Regions from separate parts of the Homo sapiens genome. Here all the other regions are linked to region 1. The links are contacts of gene promoters, found by promoter capture Hi-C in blood cells and fetal thymus (Javierre and others, 2016). All regions are on one chromosome and are shown on one strand. The core of a region is centred on a gene start or on the middle of the fragment in contact, and the rest is flanking DNA. Distances in the headings are between cores, read along the strand shown.

The links. Contacts are between HindIII fragments. The CHiCAGO score rates a contact against its expected background, and 5 or more counts as called.
Region 2: a fragment that was not itself captured here is called in contact with the fragment with the promoter of C7 in region 1 in 1 of 17 cell types (fetal thymus); the score reaches 5.2 in fetal thymus.
Region 3: a contact is called between a fragment that was not itself captured here and the fragment with the promoter of C7 in region 1, in 1 of 17 cell types (activated CD4 T cells). The highest score is 5.7, in activated CD4 T cells.

What each region holds. Positions count from the first base shown.
Region 1 is chr5:40,906,957-40,911,547 of GRCh38, forward strand. It overlaps C7 (complement C7), which reads left to right and starts at 2,541. Exons shown (of 18, transcript NM_000587.4): 1 at 2,541-2,660. The coding sequence starts at 2,655. It also overlaps the pseudogene RNU7-161P. The HindIII fragment of the contact is 6,323 bases long and covers 1,174-4,591 here.
Region 2 is chr5:39,715,262-39,719,852 of GRCh38, forward strand. It overlaps the pseudogene INTS6P1. Among named protein-coding and RNA genes, the nearest start is that of LINC02104, 200 kb to the left of the region's middle. The HindIII fragment of the contact is 1,248 bases long and covers 1,720-2,967 here.
Region 3 is chr5:39,740,265-39,744,855 of GRCh38, forward strand. No RefSeq gene overlaps it. Among named protein-coding and RNA genes, the nearest start is that of LINC02104, 220 kb to the left of the region's middle. RefSeq lists a silencer at 309-535. The HindIII fragment of the contact is 2,318 bases long and covers 775-3,092 here.

The DNA of each region.
Region 1 (4,591 bases), core at 1,291-3,790:
GGATATTCTGTAAATGGGCTAATACGGTCCTTTATAGCATGTAAAGAACAAAAATAAGGAAGGATATAGCTTAAGGCTTCTACCTGTCAAAGCTGATAGCCTATCATATTACACATTTTAGAAAATATTGATCAAATTCAGGATGAAAAAATTAATACATGCATGTATATATAAATAAAAAGCTACTGTAGCAGATGCTGTTGGTACCCTACCCATATTCCTTCATCGCTCGCCTCTAAATGACAAAGGTAAACACCTGCAAATATTGCAAATGCTACAATTCCCTGCTTGAAAACCTTTACTTATGGCTGCAGGCGTGTGCTTAGCTTGCCCCCAGGGCAAGCTGGTAGTGCCAGAGAGCCAATGGGTTCAGAAGCTACCTTCATCATCAGCGATGGGTTTCCTTACCCCTTAATTGGACTAACTCTTTTTTTTTTTTTTTTTTTGGGGGACAGGCTCTCGCTCTGTCACCCAGGCTGCTCTTCAGCAGTGCAGTCTCTTCAGTGGTGCAATCTCACTTCACTGCTGCCTCTGCCTCCTGGGTTCCGGTGATTCTCGTGCCTCAGCCTCCTGAGTAGTTGGGATTACAGGCATGAACCACCATAACTGGCTTTTTTTTTTTTTTGTATTTTTAGTAGAGATGGGGCTTCACCATCATGGCTAGGCTGGTCTTGAACTCCTGACCTCAAGTGATCCACCCACCTCAGCCTCCCAAAGTGCTGGGATCACAGGTGTGAACCACCACACCTGGCTGGACTAACTCTTAATTGCAGAGTTCGTGTGCAATGTCTTTCAGAGTTCCTCATTAGAACTGAACTCAAATTGCCCACTGGAGTCTCTTGCTTGATAAAACACCCTTTATTGACTTTCTTTTCTCCCCAATCTCACTTTCCCACTTCCAGTGGTGCTTTCTAAGATTATCTCTTAAAACAAAAACAAAAACAAACTACTTGCAATTGAATTCTTGTTTCTGAATCTACTTCTGGGGGAACCCAAACTAAGAGAGCCGCTGAAATGGAATTGTATATTGAGAATTTAAGATGAGTCTATGGCATCTGGAATTTATGCAGTTGGAGCTGAATAAAAAATATTTCTTTCAGGAGTCAGGATCTTTGTCTCTGTGACAAAATTTCTTCCACACAAATCACTAAAGCTTTGAACAAAAGATGCGGAAGCTTTGTCTCTGGAAACCACCATTAATTTATGAGGGGAGGATAGGGGTTGTCTTTATTATTCCAGTGCTTTGGATATAGGAAGAAAAAGTCATTAAAGCTAGAAAATCTTCACTAATGGAATGTTTACTTATAAAATTATTCTTAACTCAAATTTTCTTTCCCGCTTAACATTTATTCTACCTCACTCATAATGCACTAGCAGCTAGTGTTAGAATATTTGGTCCAACAATACAAATAAAACTGTAGCTCAATTTTTTTTTTTTTTTTTTTTTTGAGATGGAATCTCACTCTGTCTCCCAGGCTGGAGTGCAGTGGTGCGATCTCAGCTCACTGCAACCTCCGCCTCCTGGGTTCAAGTGATTCTTCTCTCTCAGCCTCCTGAGTAGCTGGGACTACAAGTGCATGCTACCATGCCTGGCTAATTTTTTTGTGTTTTTAGTAGAGACGGGGTTTCACTGTATTGTCCAGGCTGGTCTCGAACTCCTGACCTCTTGGTCCGCTCGCCTTGGCCTCCCAAAGTGCTGGGATTACAGGCATGAGCCACCGCGCCTGGCCAACTGTAGCTCAGTTTCAATAGGAAATCTAAAATCTTGCAAAATAAGCAGCATTTTATTAAATGTATGAAGGTGATGTTGGGGACTTGCTAGAATCAATGCAAAGCTATGGGAAAATAAAGACCTGGTAGAATAAGACAAGATAAAAAGCAAAGGAGAGAAAATGGATGTGGATAATGACCCTGAGAAGAACTTTCCAACACAGTGATCTGATTATCAAAGGATTAAGTGAAGTTCTTGAGAAAATTAGTGATGTCCTCAAATATGTTTACAAAAATTGATATTCTTTCTGATTATTCTGTGAAAGTTAAGCATGAAGGGATGACTATTGGGTTGTATTAGGCTGTACTTTGGGGAAAAATTCTACTCCAGAACATTCTATTTAGATTTTGAGTGACAGAACTGCATTTAAATATTTTCTTTCATAAAATATTTAATCTCAAAGTCTGGCATATAACACCTTTTAAGAGAATCATGAAAACATCCACTTAGTTTAGTAGATTGAAACAAGAAGGAGGCTCATCCCTTGCCTTACAGAGTCTCCTTTGGTTGAAAATCACTTAAACATTGAACTGAGAACATTTGCTGTGTTTCCTGATTTATAGATATGTTTCTAAGAAACATATCTATAACTTCCAAACAGTCCCAGCTGGCTGTAGCTAAGGCTGTGTAATTGATAAGATGCATCTGGTTTCAAGGCACAGATTAAGTACAAGGTCAGGCTCTTGCTGTCGTTGGAGAATCCGGTTGGGGTAGGAGCTAAATCTCAGGACCACTTGCTCTATATATGAGTGCCAAGATAATCTAGAGCAGGGAGAGGCAGAGAGGCAGGCAGCCTGCTGGGCTCTTCCTGCTGTTGAAAACTTACCCGGCCCTTACAGAGGAAATCTTCCTCCTCTCTTCTGCCCTGAATGTTTTCCCAAACATGAAGGTAAGACAATAAATTCATTACTTTTGTAAATGAAGCTATCTTTTCAAATGAACGGGGGTAATATAAATGTAATTTAAACGAAGAGGTGTAATACCTAACTGAAAGACATCAAATAAATAGAAGGCCAGAGGAAAATACAGAAGAAAAAGACCTGGGGGTGATGTTTAGAAATCCTTATTTAAACATATTTAACAGTTCAGCCAAAGTGAATTCCTTTTTCTTATCTTGTGGTGAAATTATAGGTCCAGAGGTCTGGGAATCAGGAATTGGAGACAATGTTTATGAAAGTCCCGATAAAGTCATAAAGAAATACAATAGTACTATTGTTATTTCTTGGGAAAAACTTTCCTCTGGTGTATTTTTTTTTTTTTTTTTTGCTTGTTTGGATTAGGAGCCATGCAGTAGGGTCCTGCGATTTATCTAAGAGCTAATAGAAAAGCAAATTTGCAGGCTTGGAACTTGAGAATTTGAAATCCTGGATGAAAGAGTCAGCATTGTGAGAATAGAAGATATGAGTAGATGGAATAAAACTAAAGGTCTACCAAGTATACATGTTGGCCCAATGCAAAAAGGCCAAATATTAAAAAACAAAACAAAACACAACCAAAAAGCTATTCAACAAAAGATAAGACCAAAGATAGAAATCGCTATCATAGACTAAATCTCTGGAATGCAAAAATAAGTTGAGATTGCTATTCAAATTTTATTATTGTAAATTTTGGTATTTAAACTTTAAAAATGTTGCATTGTAAGACTGTAGGAATAATTTCACAGATCTGTCAGTGGCTAGATTGCTTCCATAGTCACTGTATTGTCCATTGGGGCACCGAATCCAAGCTCGCTCATTATTGGGGTTAGAGGAGGAGCAAGATATGGATCTTGATTAAGCCATGCCTTCTGTGAAATTAAATAATTAAAATTAAACACAAATAACAAAGTTAATTTGTTTAAAGTTATGATGGGCAGTCATAAAAAAGAATGAAATCATGTCCTTTGCAGCAACATGGAGGCAGATAGAGGTCATTATCCTAAGAAAATTAACGCAGGAACAGACAATCAAATACCCCATGTTCTTAATTTTTAAGTGGGAGCTAAATATTGGGTACTCATGGGCATAAAGATGGCAACACTAGACACTGCACTCCAGCCTGGGCAATAAGGTGAGACTCTCTCTCAAAAAAAAAAAAAACAAAAAAAAAACAAGAAAAGAAAATGATGCTCTTCTGAAAGTTATCTAGCCAAAATGTTTTTTCCTAATATTTGTGTTAACTATTAATCTTTTACTTTATTTTACAATAAGAAATCTTAATAATTGCTTTGTGCTTAAAAACATGTTTACAATCATTATTATAATATTTTACTGCTGTAATAATAAATATACTTCTATCCTTTAATTAGTTGACAAAATATCAACAAATAAAGCAATTAATTTTTTAAAAATTTTACATATAGGGGCTTTCCAGCAAAAATTGGGAAGCCTGATAGACAAGTTCTAAAACAACTGTAACACTAAAGCAATTATTTCACTCCAAGTCGCATGTAGAGTTCTTACCTGTATTTGAAAGTGGACATTCATATTTTTACAGTAAACCTGAAGGACATGCTTTGGTGATATGTGACAAAGAAGGGACACTTGTGAAAGCCTTGGGCTATCAAGAAGCTAGAAATGGTTTCTATGTCAGACTTTTTAAGAGGAAGCAATGTTTTGGCCCCACAGCCCCCACGTGAACTAAATTCAGAGAGACAGTCACAGGATTCCCTTTGGTTCTCTCTGTGTTCTTGGATAGGAAATAACTTGGATCTGAGGTGTTGGAGAAGGATGTCAGGGACAAGGGACTTCCCTCGGAGCTGGCTGTGGCCCAGCCATTTGTTCCGTCCCTCCAGGAGAGAGCTGAGCTTGGGGCCTGTGAATCTAGGGAATGGTCGTCACA
Region 2 (4,591 bases), core at 1,094-3,593, 1.2 Mb before region 1:
TCAATCTTTTTTATGTCAATTTTTCCAAAATTGATCTATGGCTTGAATACAATCTCAATCAAAATTCCATCTTTTTTTGAAAATTTGTGCACTTTCTATAATGCAGATCCAGTATACTTATGGTAATCTCAAAAGAGAACAAATGAAAGCTATACAGTACCAGATGTAAAGACCTGTTACAAAAGCACAGCAATTAAGACAATGTAAGATTAGTACAAGCACAATCATACCAATGAACTAAAATATAGAGCCCAGAGACAGTTCCATACATGATATATGAGATGATATGTGACAAAAGCATTGTCGCAGTTCTGCGAGTTAGAAAGATCTAGGTCAACTGGAAATCTATATGGGAAATATGTACTTTGACCTACGATATATGGGATAGGCAAAAATTAGGGGTATATCATATACCTAAATATAAAAAGAAAAACAATAATTCTTCCTGAAGAAAATAGGGGAAAATCTTTAAGACCTTTAAATAGTTGGTGTTTCATGAAGATCTTCTTAAACAAAGATTTCTCGAACAGTGTGAAAACTCACACCATACAAAAAAGATTATAAGTGAACTGCATTAAAATTAAGAATTTATTTTTATTCAAATACATTTTAACATTAAGTGTTAAAAAGCAAAGCATAGACTCATATTTGATAAATTGTATTCAGAATAAAGAGCTCCTACAAAACAATAATAATAAAAAGACTGACAATTGATTTTTTGTTTTTTGTTTTTTTGGTTTAGATGGAGTCTCACTCTGTCGCCAACCTGAGGCTCTCGGCTCACTGCCACCTCCACCTCCCGGGTTCAAGCGATTCTCCTGCTTCAGCCTCCCGAGTAGCTGGGACTACAGGCACGCACCACCACGCCCGGCTAATTTTTGTATTTTTAGTAGAGACGGGGTTTCACCATGTTGGCCAGGATGGTCTCCATCTCTTCACCTCGCTATCCACCCACCTTGGCCTCCCAAAGTGCTGGGATTACAGGTGTGAGCCACCGCGCCTCACCTGACAATTGATTTTTTTAGAAAACAGGCAAAGACTCCTCACAAGAGAGTGTATTCCAATGATCAATAAGGATAACAAAAGGGATGTGCAAATGGCTAGGTACAATTGATTAGAGAATTGCAAATTAAAGTACAGTGAAATACAGATACACGTCTATCACAAGAGCTGAAGTTAGAGACTGTCAATGCCAACAAGGATGTGGACCAGCCAAAGAAAGTGTAAATAGTAGGAGCAAAGAGCCAGCACTACCCTTAGGCTAGGATAGCTGAAAGACAAGACCTCCTGGAAGTCCATTGGAAGAGAAACCCAGCAACTGCCACCTAAGGCCCAGTAGGGAGGGAACTTTCCTCTGCTAGCCAGTCTGTACCTTCCATTAAACAAACTAAATTGGAAGCCAGAGGGCGCTGGGTGCAGCTGATGCAATCTATAAGGTCAGACTCCCATAGCACAGAACTGAGTGGAGGGATGTGGTGACTGATCTGGAGGGGTAAACAAAGAGCCAGCAAGACTGTTCAATCATTAGATAATTTGTTTGCTCTCTCTCTATCAATGTAGCTAGCTAACCTAGCTAGCTATTTATTTTTGCCTAGCTGTTTCTGTTTGTTTACTTTTTGGTGGGAAAGTTGCTGCATATGTAAAGAAAATCAAATGGCACAAAAGATTCAGAATGACAAGCAACTAACATTTGTATGCTTACATGTCAGGCCTTTGCTAAGCTTATTTACAGACTTCAGGGCTTCCTGCTCGAGGTACAGTATGATTAAATTTTGGAGGTGGGAAGAGGATATTAGCTAAAGGCAGTTGCATATGCTACAATAGTAACTTTTTAAAAAAGTTTCAAAGGCAAAATACTTTTACAGTGAATTTTATTAAAATTTGCATAATCAAAACTTACAAGGGAAGAGAGACAAGCATAGTCTAACACTATGATAGTTAATAGTTAAATTAATTTGACTAATGGTCCCATTAATTAATTTAATAGAGCAATACTTATTTGATCGGAGTATTTATCATTTGAACAGCTGGCAATGATTTGTTCATCTTATTTTCTTAAAGAAAACATCTGCAGAGGGAATGTTAAAATAATGACTACATTTTGCAATTGAAGGTTTTTGTGTTAAGTGCATGATTTTTCCCCTGGCACGAAAGACATGTAGTTCATGGTAGCAGATGGAATATACACTGCAAAAAAATACTTGTCATAATCTAACCACCAAAAATACATTACATTTTTAATATATTTAATATTATTTTCTTCCAACATATTTACAAACACAACTTTTTTAAGAATTATGTTTTATGTATACATACCTAGGAGTTATTTCAGGTTCAGTTCCAGACCACTACAATAAAGTGAATATTGCAATAAAGTGAGTCACACAAATGTTTTGGTTTCACAGTACATATAAAAGTTATGTTTACACTATCCTGTAGTCTAGTAAGTATGCAATAGCATTATGTGTAAAAAAATGTGGAAACCTTAAAAAATACTTTATTGCTAAAAAATGCTAATGATCATCTGAGCCTTGAGAGAGTTGTAATTTTTTTGCTGGTGAAGGTTCTTGCCTTGAGGTTCATGGATGCTGACTGATCAGAGTGATGGTTGCTAAAGGGTGGGGTGGCTGTGGCAATTTCTTAAAATAAGAGAACAATAAAGTTTGCCACAGTGATTGACTCTTCCTTTCACAAAAGATTTCTCTGTAGCATGCGATGCTGTTTGGTAGCATTTTTCCAAGAGTAGAACTTCTTCCAAAATTAGAGTCAATCCTCTCTAACCCTGTTGCTGCTTGATCAATTAAGTTTATATTATACATATATATGTGTGTATTTATACATATATATACACATAAATTTATGTCACATTCTAAATCCTTTCTTGTAATTTTAACAATGTTCAACTCGTCTTCACCAGGTATAGATTCCATCTCAAGAAACCATTTTCTTGGCTTATCCATAAAAAGAAGCTTCTCATCTTTCCAAATTTGATCATGAGCTTGTAGCAATTGTCACATCTTCAGGCTTCACTTAGAATTCTAGATCTCTTGCTGTTTCTCCTACCTCTGCAGTTACTTCTTCCTCTGAAGTCTTGAATTCCTCGGAGTCACCCATGAGGGTTGGAATCAACTTCTTCCAAACTCCTGTTAGTGATATTTTCACCTCTTCACATGAATCACAAATGTTAATGGCATCTAGACTGGTGAATCCTTTCCAGAGGTTTTGAATTTACTTTGCCCAGATCTATCAGAAGAATCACTATATATGGAAGCTATAGCCTTACAAATGTATTTCTTAAATAATGAAATTTGAAAGATGAAATTACTCCTTGATCTGTGGGCTGAAGAATGGATGTTGTGTTAGCAGACATGAAAACAACACTAATCTCCTTGTACATGTCTATCAGAGCTCTTGGGTGAATAGGTGCATTGTCAATGAGCAATAATATTTCAAAAAGAATTTTTCTTTCTTTTTTCTTTGGAGGAATATTTTCAGTTTGTTAAATAAAAATGTTTTTTAGAGTGATACTTTTCACATTACAAAAATAAACCAAAATGAAGAAAAGGTCACTGTAAAATGACGGAAAATGATCTGTAGATTTGCTTTTAGTATTTCAAATAGCCGACAATGCATGTCAGAAAATGAATGCAAGATCACAACAGTCTTGTATTTACTTTGTATTTGAAGAAGATAGTGAAGTGGCCACATTCTATTTTCTTTTAATTGCTATTAATATGGTTGATCTGATTGGCTCTTCGATGAATTTCATCCAAGAAGTTCTCCAGTTGTTCTATTAGCATTCGTTTTTAAAACCTTGATGCTTCTTTAATAACATTTTGTAAAAATATTAGTCTTGTTTGTAAACTGCCTTGCACATGCTTCAGTAAAGTGAAGATTCTTTCATATTTTCTCCCTGGCTTTCAGATCTCTTTCATTATTTGTGGTTTTAGTTCGATATTGACCTCTTCATGGCTTCTGCAATGGATCAATTTCTTTCCTTTGTTGAGTGAAGATGCTGGTATGTTCTCTTCAGCACATTGTTCTTTATCTCTTGGCTCCTCATGATTTTCTAAAAATCCACCAACAGTGAGGTCATTCGTTCCTAAATTGTCATGACCAGGAGCCTCCATATGATTGGTTGGCCCTTCCAGTAAACTGGCTGGAGAAGATGTTGAAAATTCAGTATCCATAGCATTTGGTGTAATGTCTGACGAAAGTTGGTCTGCAACATGATTTTCAACCACATCATGTATTATCGAATCATTAGTGGTTTCTGAAATTTTATGAAGAGGAAGAAGCTTAATAAGATCTGGCTGTGCTTGAGTTGTAGGTGCAGGTGGTCCTTTTCCCCCGATATGATTGTTTACAACAGGATTCTGCTGTCTGCCTCTTAGTAGTGGAGACATACACTGACGTCTTTTAGGGATCCCTTGCATATTTGATTCTCCAGGTCATTTATGTTTATTTTGAGGTCCAGCCACAAATTCATCTGCTTCATCTGTCATCATACCCTTTTTATCCAGCTTAAAGGAATTGCCAAATGTATGTAACCTTTGCGGCTGATCAGGATCAAGTTCTCTTAGTGGAGAAG
Region 3 (4,591 bases), core at 684-3,183, 1.2 Mb before region 1:
TGGTTCCAGAAAACATACTGTCTCCCAATAGATTGTTAACATTCTTGGAAGCAATTCCAGTAAGGCTAGTTTTGTGGTGGTCTAATCCCTTCTAGCTGCACTCCAATTTGGCTTTTTATTGTTATTTCAAATAAAACGATTTTACTGCCTCACCAGTTCCTCTGTGTAGTAAAAGTCTTAGAATATTCCCGATGCTGTTTTTTGAAATGAATAAATTCAGCCTTGGGGAAACTGCGGTGAGATTTTGGTGGTTACTGATATCATGCAAAAGAACTCATGACGAACCCGTGATTCAGTCGCGGCTACGCATGCAGGCGTGTCTGTACACATACTTACCAGCCCTGAGACCTGGCGACAGTGGAGCAGCGCTCTAGGGAACCCGGCCAGCGGGCTGATGTCCCACGGGCTCCACAGAGTCCTCCATCATTTGCAACCACTCTGACGCAAACATGCTGCCAAACTGAAATTGAGAACATAGAAAACTTGACAGGACGATAGGGAAAGAAGGGGAGGAGGGTACATTAAAGAAGATTGGAAAAGAACAAAGAAAAGTAGAGATCAGTGTGGAAGGGCAACATTTCTCAACCATTATCAGCACTACCAGCCTTGCAAGACAAGATTCCCAGGGCCTTGTTCTGTCTTAACACTATAATACAAAACTCGAGAGCCAATCTCTTACTCCACTGAGAATCAATTTGTTTATGTCACTCAGGTATGATATTGAGAAAAATATTGAATTGCTTTTAGTGAACAAATACTAGTTTGTGAGTTCAAAGCTTAGTTTTGATTAGGCTCATGAGTAAGTTGATCTGTGAGACTATCCAGGATGTGCTGCATTGTGAAAATGTGTTTCCAGTTTTCATCCAGGCAGCCCTCTTTCCTGCCTTCTCCCTGCTCATCCAGACCACAATTACACTTGCTATTTGGAAGACTCTTCCTTTGAAAGCATTTAGAAGTATAAATAATGGTATGTTGGTTTCATCCGTCACAACTAAAAAAAAAAAATTACTTATTTTTTGATATAAGTACTTCTGTGGTATTTTAAAAATATTTTAATTATCGATTATTCTCTGGGACCCTGGGACTTAGGAATTGATATAACAGTGAACGCAATCTTGACTGTAATTTTTGGTTTGTTCTTCACAAACTTTCAGTGGCTGCAAAACAGTGTGAATTGAATTGGTCAGACTTCCTGTAAGGTAAGGTTAAAAACAGTTTAGGATTTAGGAATTGATATAACAGTGAACACAATGATCACTGAAATTTTTGGTTTGTTCCTTACAAACTTTCAGTGGCTGCAAAACAGTGTAAATGGAATTGGTCGGACTTCCTATAAGGTAAGGTTAAAAACAGTATGACCCAGAAAGCAGGGGACATGATTATAACCCCTGATTTTAGAAAAGTCACTATCAACTAGAGGTCTTAATGTGAGAATATAACTAATTTAAAAATCATATTTTGGGTTTTTCCCTCAAGTATTTAGGGTAAAAAGAATCTCATGTTACTTGTTTCATTTAGTCAGATTTAAAGTTCATAATTACACCATGGCACTCTATAGGTTTTTGAATCAATTGTTTAAGAAGACAGGTCACTGTGGTGTAATGTGTTGACACTTTCCTATTGCTGATTTGCAAAATTGGGAGTATGTTTATAAAAGGATAAAATAAGCATAGTTAAATTTTCCAAATTAAATAAAACACAGCTAATTTTAAAGTTATTTATTTCAGATTTGATATTCTACAAATATATTTTCCTGTAAACATTGATATAATTTTCAATATTTTAGAAAAATTAAGTTTTAACAAGTATATTAAATGATTTTACTACTTTGTTTTTATTTTCACTTTAGTTTACATTTCTGATGAAACTATACTTAAATTTGTTATAATGAATATATTTACATGTTATTTTTAATCCTTTATGTTGTTATTGTGACAATTAAAATTATGAAAACATTAACTACAATACTATAATTAGCTATTGTGCTAAAATTAAAGCAATAAAAGTAAATTTTATTGTGTAATTCTACACAATTCAGACCTAACTTCTGAATTTTATATATATTTTTATAACTCTTCTAAACACTACCGATACGTCTGCAGGGTGATGTATGTTCTACAATAATTTAATACATTATCTTTGATATTTCATTGACTTTTAGTTAAATATTTTACATTTTAGTGTTTTGAAGGTGCAGTTAGCAATGTAGGAGTGTGGGGTATCTTTTATTAAATAGTTTTCATTTGATTCATGCTGTTACAGACAGACATATGGTCCATGGGCTTCCATTTGTACTCTTGCTCCAGGCCCTGCGAATGTTGGGCAATTTCACTCAGTTTTGACAGACTAGACAGAGCATGAATTTTACCTTTGCCAGATGTGCAGAAAGGGCTGTTTCTTTGCAGATGTTTCATTAATATGAGAACCTTGAAAAGATCATATTTTCCAGTTTACTTAAACTTGAATAAATTATAGAAAGTAATTCATACAATATTCTAAACATGTGAGATAAATTATTGAAAAGTTGTTTGACCTTTTTTTTTTTTTAAACATGAGAAATTATATTCCAGTGACAGTCCTGGATATTGAGTTTGGACTTACGCAGTAATATACACAGCACCAATAAAGTAGATCTCATTATTATGATTTCACTTATTATTCATTATTTTTCTTTGTTACATATTGTATGTCCTTTTATGTGGGAGTTCTATGTAATGTATTATTTCCATTTGAAGAGTGAACACACTCTGAGGCTGTCTACAGAGGACCTTGGTGATGAATCTATCTAATCATTCATCATTTCTCTTCCCCACTGAACAGCTTGGCCTGCTTGACTCAGTCTTCGTGATTCAAGATGAGAGTCTGTCTGAGGCGTGCTTCTCTCATTGCTGCCAGAGGCCCTTAGTGGTGCTGCTGTGTTTCAGTGGACAACTTTGGTATCTTACTCAATTAAAAACTCTCCTTTTGATTATCATTCCAGAGTTTATCTTGAAATTTTCTATAGTTTATTTTTCTTTAATTTTTCTTATATGCCCAGAACTTTGCTTCTTTGGATCGTTTCCATCTTTACTTTCAAATAGTCATAATTTATAAGCTTTTGCTTACCTCACACTTTTCCAAGTTCAAGTAGTTTCACAAGGCATGGTGCCAGGGCATTGGGGTATGGTGCTCTACCATTAAGTAAGGGAATTGGTGACTGGTTCCACTCTGTGTTTCACAAGTTCTCTGGACAATGTCTTTAGCTCTCTGGGATTCTAATACTGTCTGTAGAATTAGTACCAGACTAAATGGGCCTTTAGGTCACATGTAGCTCTAACATTTCCAAATCGTTACTATTGTTTCAGATACCCATTTGTCCAGTTAAAGAATAGCAGATATATATTTATACCAATATGTAAGTTGCTACATAGAAGGAAGAAGTAAAACGTTAACTGCCTCTTTTTAATGTCGAAGAATACCACATAGTTTTAGAATTGTAGGAAACCATGAATGATGTGATGTTCTTATTGTTTGTGTGTTTGTGTGTGTGTGGGGGGTGAGTGTAATTATATAAGCATGGTTTCTTTTACATCACATCCTCATTTTGTATGCTTTAAAGAGTTCTTGCATAAGATTGTCCTTATATCACTTGTCCCTCTTCCATTGAGATGTTAGTTACTCATCTCCAATTTAAAACTAAGAGTTTTATTGGAATGTAACTCACATAGCATACACTTACACCCATTTAAAGTGTACCATTAAATGTAGTTTATCTTGGATTTTACTTTTTAAAAAGTACTGATAAGGTATACTTTTTTTAGAAAAAAGTACAGTACAAGATAAGCTACACCTCATGGTCAATGTGTGATTGAGTTATAGTTTTATACAGGGATTGGTTAATGCCATAAATTAGGAGCATACTTTCTGTTTTACTTATAAGTGTTTTGTAACGACCTCTTCCTCACCACACTGGAATACACACATGCACACATCATTTTTGTTGAGTTGGAGAGGACAACAATGATATGAAAGCATAATTTTTTAGCTATATGTTGTGTTAATGTTTTTGAGAAAACAATATTATACTACATCTGGTGTGATATAACAAAAAATAAGCCAGTTATTTAGTAAGCGTAGGATCCATTCAGCAGTTACAAAATAAGGAAGATCTTCCGGGTGCTAAGATGCTCTGGTTTTAGTCATGCTGTTCATGGGCAACTTTCTAGCTCTGCACTCTGTTTCTACCATTTAAAGAAAAGAATAAAAAATAACAGCTTTAATATAATGTAGTTTACACATTCTCCTCCAAATATCCAGTCCAGTTTTTAGAGATTTTATTATCCTCTAAATAGTTATTACTATTTTCAGGCTCTCAGAAACAATATTCTCCAAGCTGGGTAATATGTATCCCTGAGGTGATAAACTTTTCAAGGGTAAATGGCATGAATAATATTTTAAAAATTTATTACTAGATCTTCAACATTTATATGTACACTATCCTCTGAGTGTATCTTCCTGAGAACTAATCTGTGACCCAAATAGCCCCCCTAAAAAATCACTTGTATTCCCTTTTTATACAATAAAGGCACATTTCTTATCCACTTTGAATCTT